Regions from separate parts of the Homo sapiens genome. Here region 2 is linked to region 1. Evidence: promoter capture Hi-C in human tissues and cell types (Jung and others, 2019). All regions are on one chromosome and are shown on one strand. The core of a region is centred on a gene start or on the middle of the fragment in contact, and the rest is flanking DNA. Distances in the headings are between cores, read along the strand shown.

Evidence for each region. The method cuts DNA at HindIII sites, captures the fragments that hold promoters and counts their contacts. A contact is called where the count stands out against the background at its distance.
Region 2: a contact is called between a fragment that was not itself captured here and the fragment with the promoter of KRTAP27-1 in region 1, in 2 of the 25 tissues and cell types used here (hippocampus and small bowel).

What each region holds. Positions count from the first base shown.
Region 1 is chr21:30,331,565-30,338,943 of GRCh38, reverse strand. KRTAP27-1 (keratin associated protein 27-1) reads left to right here and starts at 1,250. Exons shown (of 1, transcript NM_001077711.1): 1 at 1,250-1,931. The coding sequence starts at 1,276. The coding sequence ends at 1,899. The HindIII fragment of the contact is 14,979 bases long and covers 1-6,631 here.
Region 2 is chr21:30,373,940-30,381,318 of GRCh38, reverse strand. It overlaps MIR4327 (microRNA 4327), which reads left to right and starts at 5,941; the gene lies at 5,941-6,025. The HindIII fragment of the contact is 5,336 bases long and covers 1,981-7,316 here.

The sequences.
Region 1 (7,379 bases), core at 1-2,500:
GATCTTTAAACATACAAGTGTGGTTATTCAAAATTATAAATGACTTGCGTGTGTTACAAAGGTATTGTATACAAGATGAGTGTGCAGCCTATAAAGCTGAAAGTATTCAGATGTGCCCTTTTAAATTTATAATATCCTCAGTCTTTCAAGGAAGTGTTTGCATAAGAATTACTGAGAATTGCTGAATGTTCTTGGGCTTCTTCAGACCTTAGAAAGGGAGTCTAGTTAGTGCACTAAGACTATACTTCTATTTTATTGTCATTAGCTGAGCCAAATATATTATAGAATATGTTATAGAAATTGTGCTGGTTGGCTCTGTGCCATGAGTATGAAACTATGCTAAGAACGGTGTCCTAATGCGATAAACATAGGAACTGATCATCTGTCTGCAGTCAATAAAAAAAGCACAGAATAAAGATGAAAAATATCTGAAGAAGGTTCATTATAAAGGAAAATAATCAACCTTTGAGAAGCACAAACACAAGTAAACACACCACTTTGTCAAGTATAGAAAAAAGGAATTAAATCCATTAGTAATTCAGAAAAGGAAGAAATAACTCCTAAATGGGAAGATTGGGGAAGACTTCAGGAAAAGGACGCATTTAAACTTGGCTTTCAAGGAGATTAGGGAAACGAAATGTTAGGCAAAAGACAAGTATTTATTGGGCAATGGCCACACTCAGTACTTTGCATGAACACTGAGAAGGAATGTGATCACAAAGTCCTCTCACATTCTGGTCCACTGGAGAGAACAATATCTGAGTGGAATGAGATTGGGCTCAACCTGGATCCAATTCTAACTTTAAATGTCTTGAACATCAAATTACCACATTCTGCTACATTGGCAGCTCTCAAAACCAGTGCTAAATGTTAATCAGTATTCAGTTGGCCACTGCCTCATGCATTTCTCATTGTCCACTTACCAATGTGCAGAGTCATGGTGGCAAAAAAAAAAAAAAATGTTAGCTTGGTTGGACAGGTTTAGACTCTTATTTGACCAACCCCACCTTGAATGAGTCATCTTTGGAGCTAACATAAAAGCCATTTTGAAGATTCAAAATGGACTTACATCTTTGTTAATAAGACATCATCTGCATATATAACCAAAGTGGTAATGAGATGTTATCCTTCAAATTAGTTTAAGCAATGAGTTGCAAAGAAGTCTTGAGAAGCCAACACCCAGGTTTCTGAGTATATAATCGCCGCACCAAAGAATTTAATTTTCAAACTCAGCATGTTGAGTCCTTATGACCATCTTTAAGGATTTTTAGCAATATGCCTCATAGCCACTGCCATTCACTCAGGAGCTTCCACAATGCCCCACCACTCTCTGCCATCACACATGGCACTAATCCTATAACCTTTGAAGACAGATTGTGTTTGCCCAGCAGCTTCCATAGCAGAACCTGTTTCCTGGACAACTTTCAAGAAACCTGCAATGAAACCACCAGCTGCCAAATGACCAATTGTGAACAGGACTTATTCACAGACGATAGCTGTGTGCAAAGTAACTGCTTCCCCGGAGTTGTCCAAACTACTTACTCCAATTCCAGGCCCTGCGAAAGGACAGCGTGCCAATCAGAAAGTTCTTCAGCAGGGCTGGCTTGTGTTTCTCAGCCTTGCCAATCAGAAAGCACTCAGCAGATGGGTTTTGTAGCCCAGAGCTGCCAACCTGCAAGCCTCAAGGGAAACAGTTGCCCACCCAAGACTTCTAAGTCTAAAAATTTCGAAACTCTGGAACGTGCATCTAGCCAATGTCAGTGTCAGTCTCAGAACCCTGAATCCAGTTCCTGTAGACCTCTGGTCAATGTTGCACCTGAGCCACAACTCCTGGAATCTTCTCCAGGAGTTGAACCAACTTGCTGTGTTACTGGTGGTTCTCAATTGCCTAGTAAGTGAAGATCTGTAGGGGAGATGGCTTATATTCTCATTTGGATGAATTTATTTTTGAGATACTTAGATATTTTGTATTTCTTTAAATAAAAAATGTTGTGTGTGTTTGTTAGTAAATGAACATGTCTTATTTTACTACTGTCTCCAAAGACAAGATTTTTTTTCTTGTTTTTCTTTTGGGTATGTCTAGTGGTAATCTGGGGTTGGAAAGCATGCTAGCTATTTTAGAGCAGTAGGATACGATTTGTTATTAAGCAATAAGAGCTGTAGCCAGGAAATAACATGAATACTTAAAGGAAACATCACACTTTAACTGCAAGTTGTTTTCTTTGGAAATACTTAGCATTGGATCTGGTTTATTAAGTAATGTGCTACTAGTCTCAGAAATTCATAAAATATTGGAACCAAACCTAAAAGCCTACCTAGTCCTGTGAATTACGATAGGTTCAACTCTATCAGAGGTTGCCCAAGTAGTTAATAACATCAGAACCACAACTAAAATCCAGGCCTACTCACTGGCCATCTGTTATTTTAGCCATTGAATCACAACATTCTCAAATTAACTAGAAGATTAAGTCTATTGTTCGAATAGAGCAAGGTAATTTTGAATTTCACCTCCATGGGCTTTATAACCACGTAGCAACCAGAAGCCTTTAAATAGAATGAATTGAAGTTTAGAATCTTCACTTCATTTCGTTCCCGTTGTTTTTTTGGTTGTTTGTTTTTTTCCTGTTTTCATTATTTCTTAAGTATTTTTTGAGTTTGGAAAATATTCTTTGTATTAAATAAATTTGCTTTCTTTGGAAGCAAAATTTGGACTTGTCACACTATTATTTTTATTCAATCCTTTTGCAGGTGTTATGTTACAGGCTTTTTGTTTCTTCGTTTGTTACCTAATGAAAATAGTATAAATATTTAGAAGAAAAGAGAACATATCCTCTTGTTATAATTTTTATAGTGTGAACCAGAAAAGAATAACTCATGGTGGTAGTCAACAGAAGATGGAAAATATACTCATATGAACATCATAAGACCATAGAGTCAGATGTTTGAAATTGATTAATTTTATTTAGGTAGCTTAGCTATTCTGAAACTTTTGGTGTGTTCTTAAATTGATCTTTCAATTTTTTTTTTTTTTTTTGAGATGGAGTCTCGCTATGTCACCCAGGCTGGAGTGCAGTGGCGCAATCTCGGCTCACTGCAAGCTCTGCTTCCTGGGTTCACGCCATTCTCCTGCCTCAGACTCCCGAGTAGCTGGGACTACAGGTGCCTGCCACCATGCCCGGCTAATTTTTTGTATTTGTAGTAGAAACGGGTTTCACCACATTAGCCAGGATGGTCTCAATCTCCTGACCTCGTGATCCGCCTGCCTCGGCCTCCCAAAGTGCTGGGATTACAGGCGTGAGCCACCATGCCTGGCCTTGGATCTCACATTTTTTCAGGGCAAAATAAGGTAGTGGTTGAGAGCATGAACTCTGAATATGGATTTCCTTGAGCTGGAATCTTAGCTTTGCTTAGTGATGGCTGTTTAAGTTCCAACTGTGTGACTGTGTGCAAGTTATTTAACCACCTCAGTTTCTTCAACTTCAAAAGTGAAGGATAATAATAGGGCTACTGTGAGCCTTAATAAGTTAATAAATTGAAAGTGTAAGGCTTAAAAAATTACCATGTATATAGCATATTTAGCAACTCAGCTAGCTCAGAGACTTGGTATGGGGGAGGTAGTGGGGATTTGTAAATAAACCCAGAAATCCATGAGAGATTAGGAAAGCTAGTCATCCAACAAAAGAGAGATTAGCTGTTTTGTATTTTGGAAGATGCAGGCAGCATCATCTACTAAGGGAGAAAATTAAGAAACTTAAACGCTGTCTAGTTGAAGTAAATTGGCAAGTATCTCTGAATCTATGGCAAACCTAATGCTACTGATAATTTACCAGTTAGTTCTGAGGGTGGGTGCCATGGTAATTCTATGTATCAACATGATTGAGCCAAGGGCTGCCCAGATTAAGCATTATTTCTGAGTGTGTCTGTGAGAGTGTTCAAGGGAGATAAGCATTTAAATCAGTGTGCTCAGTAGATGGCCCTCTCCAATGTGGATGGGAATCGTTCAGTCCATTGAGGGCCTAAATAAAACAAATGGTCGGGGAAGGAGAAATGTGCCCGTTTATGTTTCCTGCAAGCCTACTTGAGCAGAGACATTGGGTTTCTCCTGCCCTTGGACTGGATTTATACCATTGGCTCCCCTGGTTCTCAGATCTTCACATTTGGACTGGAATTATATCACTGGTTTCCTTGAGTTTCCAGGTTGCAGGTGACACATCATGAGATTTCTTAGCCTCCATAATTGTGTGAGCCAATCCTTCGTGATAAATCACTCACTCTCTCTCTCTCTTCATACACACACACACACACACACACACACACACACACACACATGCATATATATACACACACATATATACAGTGAGATAAATATATATTATATATAGTCTGTCTATCTATCTATCTATCTATCTATCTATCTATCTATCTATCATCTATCATCTATCATCTATCTATCTATTTTATTGGTTCTGTTTCTCTATGTAGCCCTGAATAATACAGTGGGATAGACACAGGCCATCTCAAAGAGGAAGACTTAAGCCTAAAATCTGTAAACCACCACATACACAGGTGCTCTGTAGAGGGATAGGATTGACGGAAGTCTGAGAGAGGCCAAACACTATTCAATACCATCAATAGTACTCAGAGCCTTTGGCAGCCTCAATAGCAGAACATCCCTGAAGCAAACAACATTGACATAAAGCTTCTGTCCACAGCACTGATGGCAGTAACACAGCATTGGCAACAGTAAAGACAGAATTTATCTCGTGGCAGCTTCTCAGCATTCTAGTCACAGCCAATCATGTGAACATAGATCAAGTTCATTCACAATAAGGATTTTTACTATTGCAATGCCAACTGGGTTGCCCAGAAAAAGCTCAATTCATTTGGACCACTGTTTCTAAAGACAAGAGGGAAAACCTACCCATTCCATGTGCCTTCCAAGTATATATTATTTTACTGGGTGTAGCTTGCTGAGAAAACAGGACTTTGGCGAAAACGGGCTATGTGTGGTATGTGTTGTGGAGCAGGGGAATGCCAGGAAAGAGGGACGTGATGTTAAGTTTCACTTTCCCATCTACTCTGTTCATCATTCTAGACATTAGCTTTCCAGGCTGAGCTTGACCACTGCTAGAAAGAGAAGCTAGCTGAAGAAGGAGCCAGTATTTAATCTAACTCAACATGGAGCATATTAGAGCTCCTCATAGAAAGAAATTATGTGGACTCAGGTACAAAAAGACTTTTGATATTGGAATATGGAATGCCATAATTATATAAACCTTGGTAGAAAATTTAGTGTAAGGAAAAGGACATGAATCTTATAGTATGACTAGATCTTACTCAATTCCAAATTCTGTGTATTAAAAGCTATGTGCTCTGGGATGAATTAACATTCTTTTTTTCTTTTTCTTTTTTTTTTTTTTTTTTGTCAGTGTCTCACTTTGCTGCCCAGGCTGGAGGGCAGTAGTGCAATGTTAGCTCCCTGCAAACTCTGTCTCCCGGGTTCAAGCGATTCTCATGCCTCAGCCTCCCAAGTAGCTGGAATTACAGGTGCATGCCACAACACCTGGCTAATATTTGTACTTCTTGTAGAGATGGGGTTTCATCATGCTGGGCAGGCTGGTCTCAAACTCCTGACATCAAGTGATCCACCTGCCTCAGCCTTCAAAAATGCTGGGATTACAGGCGTGAGCCACTGCACCTGGCCCAAATTAACATTTCTGAGACTTGGTTCCATTATTGTAAAATGGAGATAATAATATTAAAGTCATTGGATGATTATGACAACTAAATGGCATGATTCCAATTAAATGCTTAGTGGACTGTTTGGCACATAATAAGAGCACAATATATGCTAGGTATCATTTGATACTTCGTCTGATATTTTTCTCTTGGGCCTCAATTTCAGTTTGTTTTTATGATTGTCTATAATGCATTTGAATCCAGGGCAGAGACCAAGAAAATTATTTCATTCCATGTGAAAAGAATGTAAGCAGTATGGGACATAACCAGGATATTCTATGCAGGACTCATTTTTAAGCAATGTCAAAACATACCGGTGGGTATATGCATGCTACAGAGCATTCTTCATAGACCAAGGGACTTCTTCCTGCCTAAAAAGAATGGTAGGATTTGTACATTGGTATCCTGAACACCTCAAGACATTGGTAGTTTAACCACATGTTTTTCTCTTAGAAGTAAAGCATAATGACTATCAAGAATGTCTTCTTGCCTGTACAGTGCTGGGTCAAGAGCCATAAAATAGCTCTTATTAATTGGGTGCTTATTATTTACCTAACACTTTGTACATATTTTATCATTTTAAACTCAAATAACCCAGTGGTATAAGTAACATTAGTAAATCCCCCTTTTTCCAGTGAGGACAAAGGCACAAATTTGTCCTGTGGAGGACAAGACTTTGCTTTGTGTTAGAAGAGAATTACTCATATCTTTCTTTAAGCCACGATATCCTTCCCTAGTTCTACTCTGTCTTTCTACTTTCAAGAGTCTTACTTACTCCCTACTCTGTAATTTAAGTAACTTTTCCAGTACAGGAAGTAAATGGTGGAACGAGGGTTTTAACCCATGAATCTTTAAAGTTTGAGTATAACACTGTAATACTTTAATTGTGCTTTACTTATATTATACTTCTAGTCATTAGAGTAGCTTCAAATGTGGAAGAAATATCTGTGCAATGTGGAGGACCGATACAAATAATTTGACTAAAAATGATTGGTCTGGTTATATTGTATTGCTGTGAGACTGCAGAAGAAACACCCAGAGAACTGAGTATTGTTGACTGGATGGCTCATTTGTAACTCAAAAATAAATGCAATAAAGGAAATGAACATATTTTCATTAGAGTTTGTAAAATATTATGCAATTGAAATATCTTAGAAAAAAACAAATACTAACTTCAAGTCATGTGTCATCAATAGAATCTAGATGCTAGGAAAAGGATTTAGATGGCATGGAGTCAGATTCACCTACAATACAACAATTATCGTCTTAATGGTAGTACTTTCATTTTCCATATCCTTTAGTCCTTATTCTTTTTAAATTAAATACTATTTCTCTTGAAAATTTTGAGCTCATTGTAGACACTAATAGGATTGGACAGGACTTTGCTCCATGTTAGATGAGAATCACTCATATCTCTATTGAAGCCACAATATCCTTCCCTAGTTGTGCTTTCTGTTTTATTTCCAGGAGTCTTACTTACTTCCTCATTTGAAATTCTTTTACCTAGAGAGTTGTTCTAAAATCTTCCACTTGGACTCAAATAATAGTTGATTGAAAAATATTTAAGAAGGAAACAGCTAATATAATTAATAAATCATATTCTGGTTATATCAGAGATACGGCCTTGATGAAGTATAAAA
Region 2 (7,379 bases), core at 3,399-5,898, 39 kb before region 1:
AACCAATCATGCCTTCCCAACAGTTCCCCAAAGTCTTAACTCATTTCAGCATCAACTCAAAAGTCCACAGTCCGAAGTCTCATCTGAGACAATGCAAGTCCCTTATGCCTATGAGCCTGTAAAATCAAAAGCAAGTTAGTTACTTCCTAGATACAATGGGGGTACAAACATTGAGTAAATACAACTTTTCCAAATGGTAGAAATTGTCCAAAACAAAGAAGCTATAGGCCCTATGCAAGTCTGAAATCCAGCTGGGCAGTCAAATCTTAAAGCTCCAAAATGATCTCCTTTGATTCCATGTCTCACATCCAGGTCACCCTGATGCACGATATACCAAGAGATTTTTAGCTAAATTAGTCTTCATCAAACTAGAAACATCTGTTTTCAAAGACTTTAATAAGAAAATGAAATTAAAAGTCACAGACTGGAAGAAAATATTGTAAAAACATATACTTTGATAGAGGATTTGAATCTTAGTCTTCTGTGTAAAAAAACAGTAAGAATATAATTATAATGAGATAACACACATAGAAAATGTTCAAAAGATTTGAACAGACACCTCTAAAGGAGAAGTATGGGAGGCAAAAAGCACATGAGGAAATGTTCAATATTATTATTCATTAGAGAAATGCAAATTGAAACCACAATGGGACACCATTACATGCCAACTAGAATAGACAAAATAATAAGGATAATACATACAGTGCGGTTGAGACTGTGAAACAAGTGAGATTTTCATACATTGCTATTGGAATGCAAAATGGTATAGCCACTGTGGAATATAGTTTGTCAGTTTTTTATAATGTTAAACATGTGGTTACCATATAAACCAGTAATCCCATGCATAGGTATTTACCTAAGAAAATTGAAAACATATTGTATTAGTCTGTTTTCATACTGCCTTAAAGATACTACCTGAGATTGGGTAATTTATAAAGAAAAAAGATTTAATTGACTCAGTTTTGCATGGCTGAAGAGGCCTCAGGAAACTTACAATCATAGCAGAAGGTAAAAGGGAAGCAAGGCACATCTTACATGGCGGCAGGAGAGAGAGAGAGCACACAAGGGAACCTACTACTTGCAAAACCATCAGATCTCATGAGAAGTTCCTCACTATCACAAGATCAGCATGGTAGAAACCACCCCCCATGATCCAATCACCCCCCACCAGGCCCCTTCCTCAACATGTGGGGATTATAATTCAAGATGAGATTTAGGTGGGGCCACAGGGCCAAACCATATCATTCTGCCCTTGGCACCTCCCAAATCTCATGTCCTTCTCACATTTCAAAACCAATCATGCCTTCCTAACAGTCACACAAAGTCTTAACTTATTCCAGAATTAACCCCAAAGTCCAAGTTCAAAGTCTCATCTGAGATAAGGCAAGTCCTTTTCTGCCTATGAGCCTGTAAATCAAAAACAAGTTAGTTACTTCCAAGATACAATGGGGGTACAGGCATTGGGTAAATGTTCACATTCCAAGAGGGAGAAATTGGCCAGAACAAAAAGGATACAGGCCCCATGTAGCACAGCCATTAAATATTAAAGCTCCAAAATAATTTCCTTTGAATTCATGTCCCACATCCAGGACACGCTGATGCAAGGGGTGGGCTCCTAATGCCTTGGGCAGCTTCTCTCCTGTGGCTCTGCAGGTTATAGTCCTCATGGCTACTTTCACAGGCTGGCATTGAGTGTCTGTGGCTTTTCCACACACACAATGCAAGCTGTTGGTGGATCTACATTTCTGGGGTCTGGAGGATGGTGGCCTTCTCATGGCTCCACCAGACAGTGCCCCAGTGGGGACTCTGTGTGGGAGCTCACACCCCACAGTTCCCTTCTGCACTGCCCTAGCAGAGGTTCTCCATGAGGGCTCTGCCCCTGCAGCAGACTATTGTCTGGACTTCCAAGCATTTACATATATCCTCTGAAATTTAGACAGAGGTTCCCAAACCTCAACTCTTGTTTTCTGCACATCTGCAGGCCCAATACCACTTGCAAGCCACCAATGCTTGGGACTTGCACCCTCTGAAGCAACAGCTGTAGCTATACCCTGGCCCCTATCAGCCATGGCTGGAGCTGGAGCTTCTGGGACACAAGGCATCAAGTCCTGAAGCTGCACAGAGCAGCCAAGCCCTGATCCTAATGTATGAAGCCATTTTTCCCTCCCAGGCCTCCAGGCCGGTGATGACAATGGCTCCTGTAAATGTCTCTGACATGCCCCTGAGACATTTTCCCCATTGTCTTGGCTATTGACATTCAGCTCCTCGTTGCTTATGCAAATTTCTGCAGCCAGCTTGAATTCCTCTGCAGAAAATGGGTATTCCTTTTCTATCACATGGTCAGGCTGCAAATTTTCCAAACTTTTATGCTCTGCTTCCTTTTTAAAATAAGTTCCAATTTCAAAGCATCTCTTTGTGAACACACATAACTGAATGCTTTCAGAATAAGCCAGGTCACATGTTGAATGTTCTGCTGCTTAGCAATTTCTTCCACCGGATACCTTAAATCATCTCTCTCAAGTTCAAAGTTTCACAGGTCTCTAAAGCAGGGGAAAAATGCCACTAGTTTCTTTGCTAAAGCATAGCAAGAGTGACTTTGCTCCAGTTCCCTATAAGTTCCTCATCTCCATCTGAGACCACCTCAGCATGGACTTCGTTGTTCATATCACTATCAGCATTTTGGTCAAAACCATTCAACAAGTCTCTAGGAAGTTCCAAACTTTCCCACATCTTCCCGTCTTCTTCTAAGCCCTCCAAACTGTTCCAACCTCCTCCTGTTACCAGTTCCAATGTCGCTTCCACATTTTCAGTTTATCTTTATAGCAGTACCCAACTCTGCTGGTACCAATTCTCTGTATTAGTCTGTTATCACACTGCTATGAAGATACTACCTAGGACTGGGTAATTTATAAAGAAAAATGGTTTAATTGACTCATAGTTCCTCATGGTTGGAGAGGCACCAGGAAATTTACATCATGGTGGAAGGTGAAGGGGAAGCAAGGCACATGTTACATGGTGGCAGGAGAGAAAGAGAGTATACACAGGCAGAAACTGGGACTTTTAAAACCATCAGATCTCATGAGAAATCCCTCACTATCATCAGAACAGCATGGCGGAAACCGTCCTCATGATCCAATCACCTCCCACCAGGTCCCTTCCTTGACATGTGGGGATTATAATTAGAGATGAGATTTGAATGGGCACACAGAGCCAAACCATATTACATATGTCCACAAAATTATCTGTATGTGAATGTTTATAGCAGTTTTATCCACAGTAACTCCAGACTCAAAATCATCTAAATGTCCATTTTCTAGTGTATAGCGTACATACAATGAAATACCACTTGGCAATAAAAGGGAATAAACTACTGGAATATGCAACAACATGGATGAATTTCAAAAGCATTATGCTCTGTGAAGGAAGTTAAACACAGAAGGCAACGTAATGTGTAATTCCTTTTATCATGCAGTTCAAAAAATAAGACTATAGGAACAGAAATTTAGATATTGGGGAAGCAGATTGATCCAAAGGAGCACAGGAGAATTTCTAGAAATAATGGAAATACTCTATCTCAATCAATTGATGATTACATAACTATATATGTTTGTCAAAACTCATTGAACTGGGAAGCCAAGGCAGGAAGATTGCATGAGGCCAGGAATTCAAGACTAAACTGGACAACACAGTGAGAATCTGCCTCTACAAAAAAAAAAGAAAAAAAAATAGCTAGGGGTTGTGGTATGCACTTATAGTCCTAACCACTCAGGAGGCTGAGGCAGGAGAATGACTTGAGCTCAGCAGTTGGAGGCTACAGTGAGCTATGATCACACTACTGCACTCCAGCCTGGGCAACAGAGCAAGCCCTTGCCCCCTCCACCAAAAAAAGAACAGAAAGGAAAAAACCCATTGAACTGTACTCCTAAAAATGGTGCATTTCATTTTATGGGAACTGTGTATCCACAGATCTGACTTTACAAAAGAGTCAAACAACTGACCAGAGGAATATATTAGCAACATATGAAAGACAAAGGCATACAAAAAGAATGCACAAATTCTCTAAAAATACATTTAAAAGAACAAATGACTCCATAGAATAATGGCTAAAAGATAACAAAATATGAGAAACTAAAACAGGTCTGAGTTACACAGCTAAGTGATGGAGCTGGGATTCAAACTCTGCCAGCCTGAATCCAAAAGCCTTGATCGTAACTACCATGCTAGAATTGAAATTATGTATGTCCAGCAATTGCATCTAAATATACATGTTCCAGAAGCCCTAGACAGTAGATGCAAGGGCCTATATAGAAGTATATTTCTTGCCACATGGTTTGTGATAGTAAAAAATCAAGAATGGTAGAGCGATATATCAATAAAATATTTTTATACAGTAGAATTCTATAAATTTGTAACAAGGAATAAACTAGATGTGTGTATCATAGCAACATGGTTATTTGCATAAAGTCTGACAATGGTGTCAGTATTGCAGTTCAAATCTCATCTCTGCTACTAACTACATGGGTAGCTTTGGCAAGTAACTCAATCTGTTTGTGTCTCAGCTTCCTCAGCTATAAAACAAGAATAAAAGTGGTGTGTACCATGTAGAATTATTATGAGGATTGAGTTAATATTTGTAATACAGTGCTGAGAACAGTGCCTGACATTTAAAAGTTCTACTGTAGTGATAATAAATGCACAAATATATAAATATCAACTTGGATATGTTTTAGATATTTTTATTTAAATAAATTTAATATAAAAAGAAAGCTACAGATACATATATGTATCCAATAAGATGGCATTTTTGTAACTTAAAACAACAATAAATGGTATAAACCGATAAATATATGTATAGACAATTTCCTGGAATGCTATGCAAAAACGAATGCATTATTGTGATGCCTTTGGAAAGATATGAAAAAGAATCAGACTGAGAGACTGGCCCACAAGGGGTCTCTCTCTGTAAGATAGCGAATAGAATGGTGGTTACCATAGGCTTGCAAGGGTAGTGGAAAGAAAGGACAGAGAGGTGTTGGTTAATGGGTGCAAAAATATAGTTAGATAGGAGGAATAAGATCTAGTGTTCAGTAACACAGTACAGCAACTGTGGTTAACAATAATGTATTGCATATTTCAAAATAACTAGAAAAGTAGATTTGGAATGTTCTCAACACAAAAAAAATGATAAATGTTTAAGGTGATGGATATGCCAGTTACCCAGATTTGATCATTACACATCGTGTGCCTGTATCAAAATATCACATGTACCCCATTAATATGCGCAACATTATGTATCCATAAACATTTAAAATAAAAAAGAGAAAGATGAACGCAAATCTGACAACGTGGTAACAATTGTGAGTTTAGGCATCCAGAAAATGACTCTAGAATTTACTTTAATTTTCTATTTGTTTTCAGTAAATGCAAGGGTAAGGTCTCAGAAGAGATAAGAAGAACCGAGAGGTGTGTAAGCAGGCTGTTTATAAATCTTTTTGTTTGTTTGTTTGTTTGAGACGGAATCTCACTCTGTCGCCCAGGCTGGAGTGCAGTGGCATGACCTTGGCTCACTGCAACCTCTGCCTTCCAGTTTCAAGCGATTCTCCTGCCTCAGCCTCTCCAGTAGCTGGGATTACAGATGTCTGCCACCACGCCTGGCTAATTTTTGTATTTTTAGTAGAGACGGGATTTCGCCATGTTTGAAAGGCTGGTCTCAAACTCCTGACCTCGTGATCCACCTGCCTCGGCCTCCCAAAGTGCTGGGATTACAGGCGTGAGCCACTGCGCCCAGCCTGGCCTTTTTATTTCAAACGAAAGTCATGGATGATGAAGACATAAAATGGATGAATTTGAAGCAGGAAGAGCTGTAGTGAAGTTAGAGGAGGTGCCAGGGCCTGGAAAAGTCTCAAACAATGAGGCCGGATGACCTCCGAGAAAGCCACAGGCCTGGGTAGGCTTGCATGGGGGACTGGGAAGAGACCATGAACAGGTTAGTCCAGGGAGTTCTCATCAAGCCTTTACTCAGTAGTGGGTTCTTCATAGTTAGCATTAATGTTTAATAGATACATTTCCCCTTGGGTGAGAATTTTAAAAATAAAATCTAGTGTAAAGCAGCTGTTATGAAGACTCTTTAGTGACCAGACAATAAAAGCCTCTCCTAGGTCTAGAGAAGGCAGAAAATTAAAAAGTGAACAGAAAGTAAAAAGGTGGCCGGACGCGGTGGCTCACGCCTGTAATCCCAGCACTTTGGGAGGCCGAGGCGGGTGGATCATGAGGTCAGGAGATCAAGACCATCCTGGCTAACATGGGGAAACCCCGTCTCTACTAAAAATACAAAAAATTAGCCAGGCGTGGTGGCGGGCACCTGTAGTCCCAGCTACTCGGGAGGCTGAGGCAAGAGAATGGTGTGAACCCGGGAGGCAGAGCTTGCAGTGAGCCAAGATTGCACCACTGTACTCCAGCCTGGGTGACAGAGCCAGACTCCGTCTCGGAAAAAAAAAAAAAAAAAAGAAAGTAAAAAAGGTATAGGGCAGTATATATGGATTTTTACTATTTCTACTACTGCCTAATATTTGGTTAATTTGAAAGCTTTTGAAGAATCTCTGGAAACATTGCAATAGAAGATTGTCAGTTTAAAGCTTCTGCTACATTACTATGTTAACTTGGAAAAACAATCACTTTTCAAGTAATTCAGATCATAGGCTACTTGTGGCTACTGTGTACTGTAATGATAGTTTTATTCTCTGTAGTGTTGTTATGCCTAAATTTCTAAAGAGAAAAGAGAAAGAAGAAAGAAAGAAAGAGAAAAGAAAGAAAGAAATAGAAAGAAAGAGAAACAGAGAAAGAGAGAGAGGGAGAAAGGGAGGGAAGGAGGCAGAGAGAGAGGGAGGGAGGGAAAGAAAAGAAAGAAAAAGAAAAGGAAAGAGAGGCAGAGAAAGAAAAGAAAGAAAAAGAAAAAGAAAGAGGGAGGGAGGGAAGGAAGGAAGGAGAGAGAGAGAAAAGATTTCAATATCACGTTTTCCCTGACATATCAAGATAGTGAATTTTTCTTTCTATACTAATACTTTGCCTGTGTATGTAGAGTACGTAGAGTATTTTATTAGTTCCAGAATCCACTTTTGAACTGTTAAGGCTACTCTAGTTTTGTTCTGCTTTTTCTGCCTTTCAGATGGACACATTTATTAGCATTTGGGAGTTGTTCATTAGCATTTGTACAAAGTGCACAAATAACTCCTAATAAAAAGTGTTAACCCAATTAGGAATGGGTGGAGGGACTGTTAATTGGAACTGACTTACTCCCAAGTTATTTTAGTGTTTATTCCCAGACATAGGGAGCTGGTCTAGAAAGGCAAGAACTTTTGGATATTAGTAAGTTTTTTGTT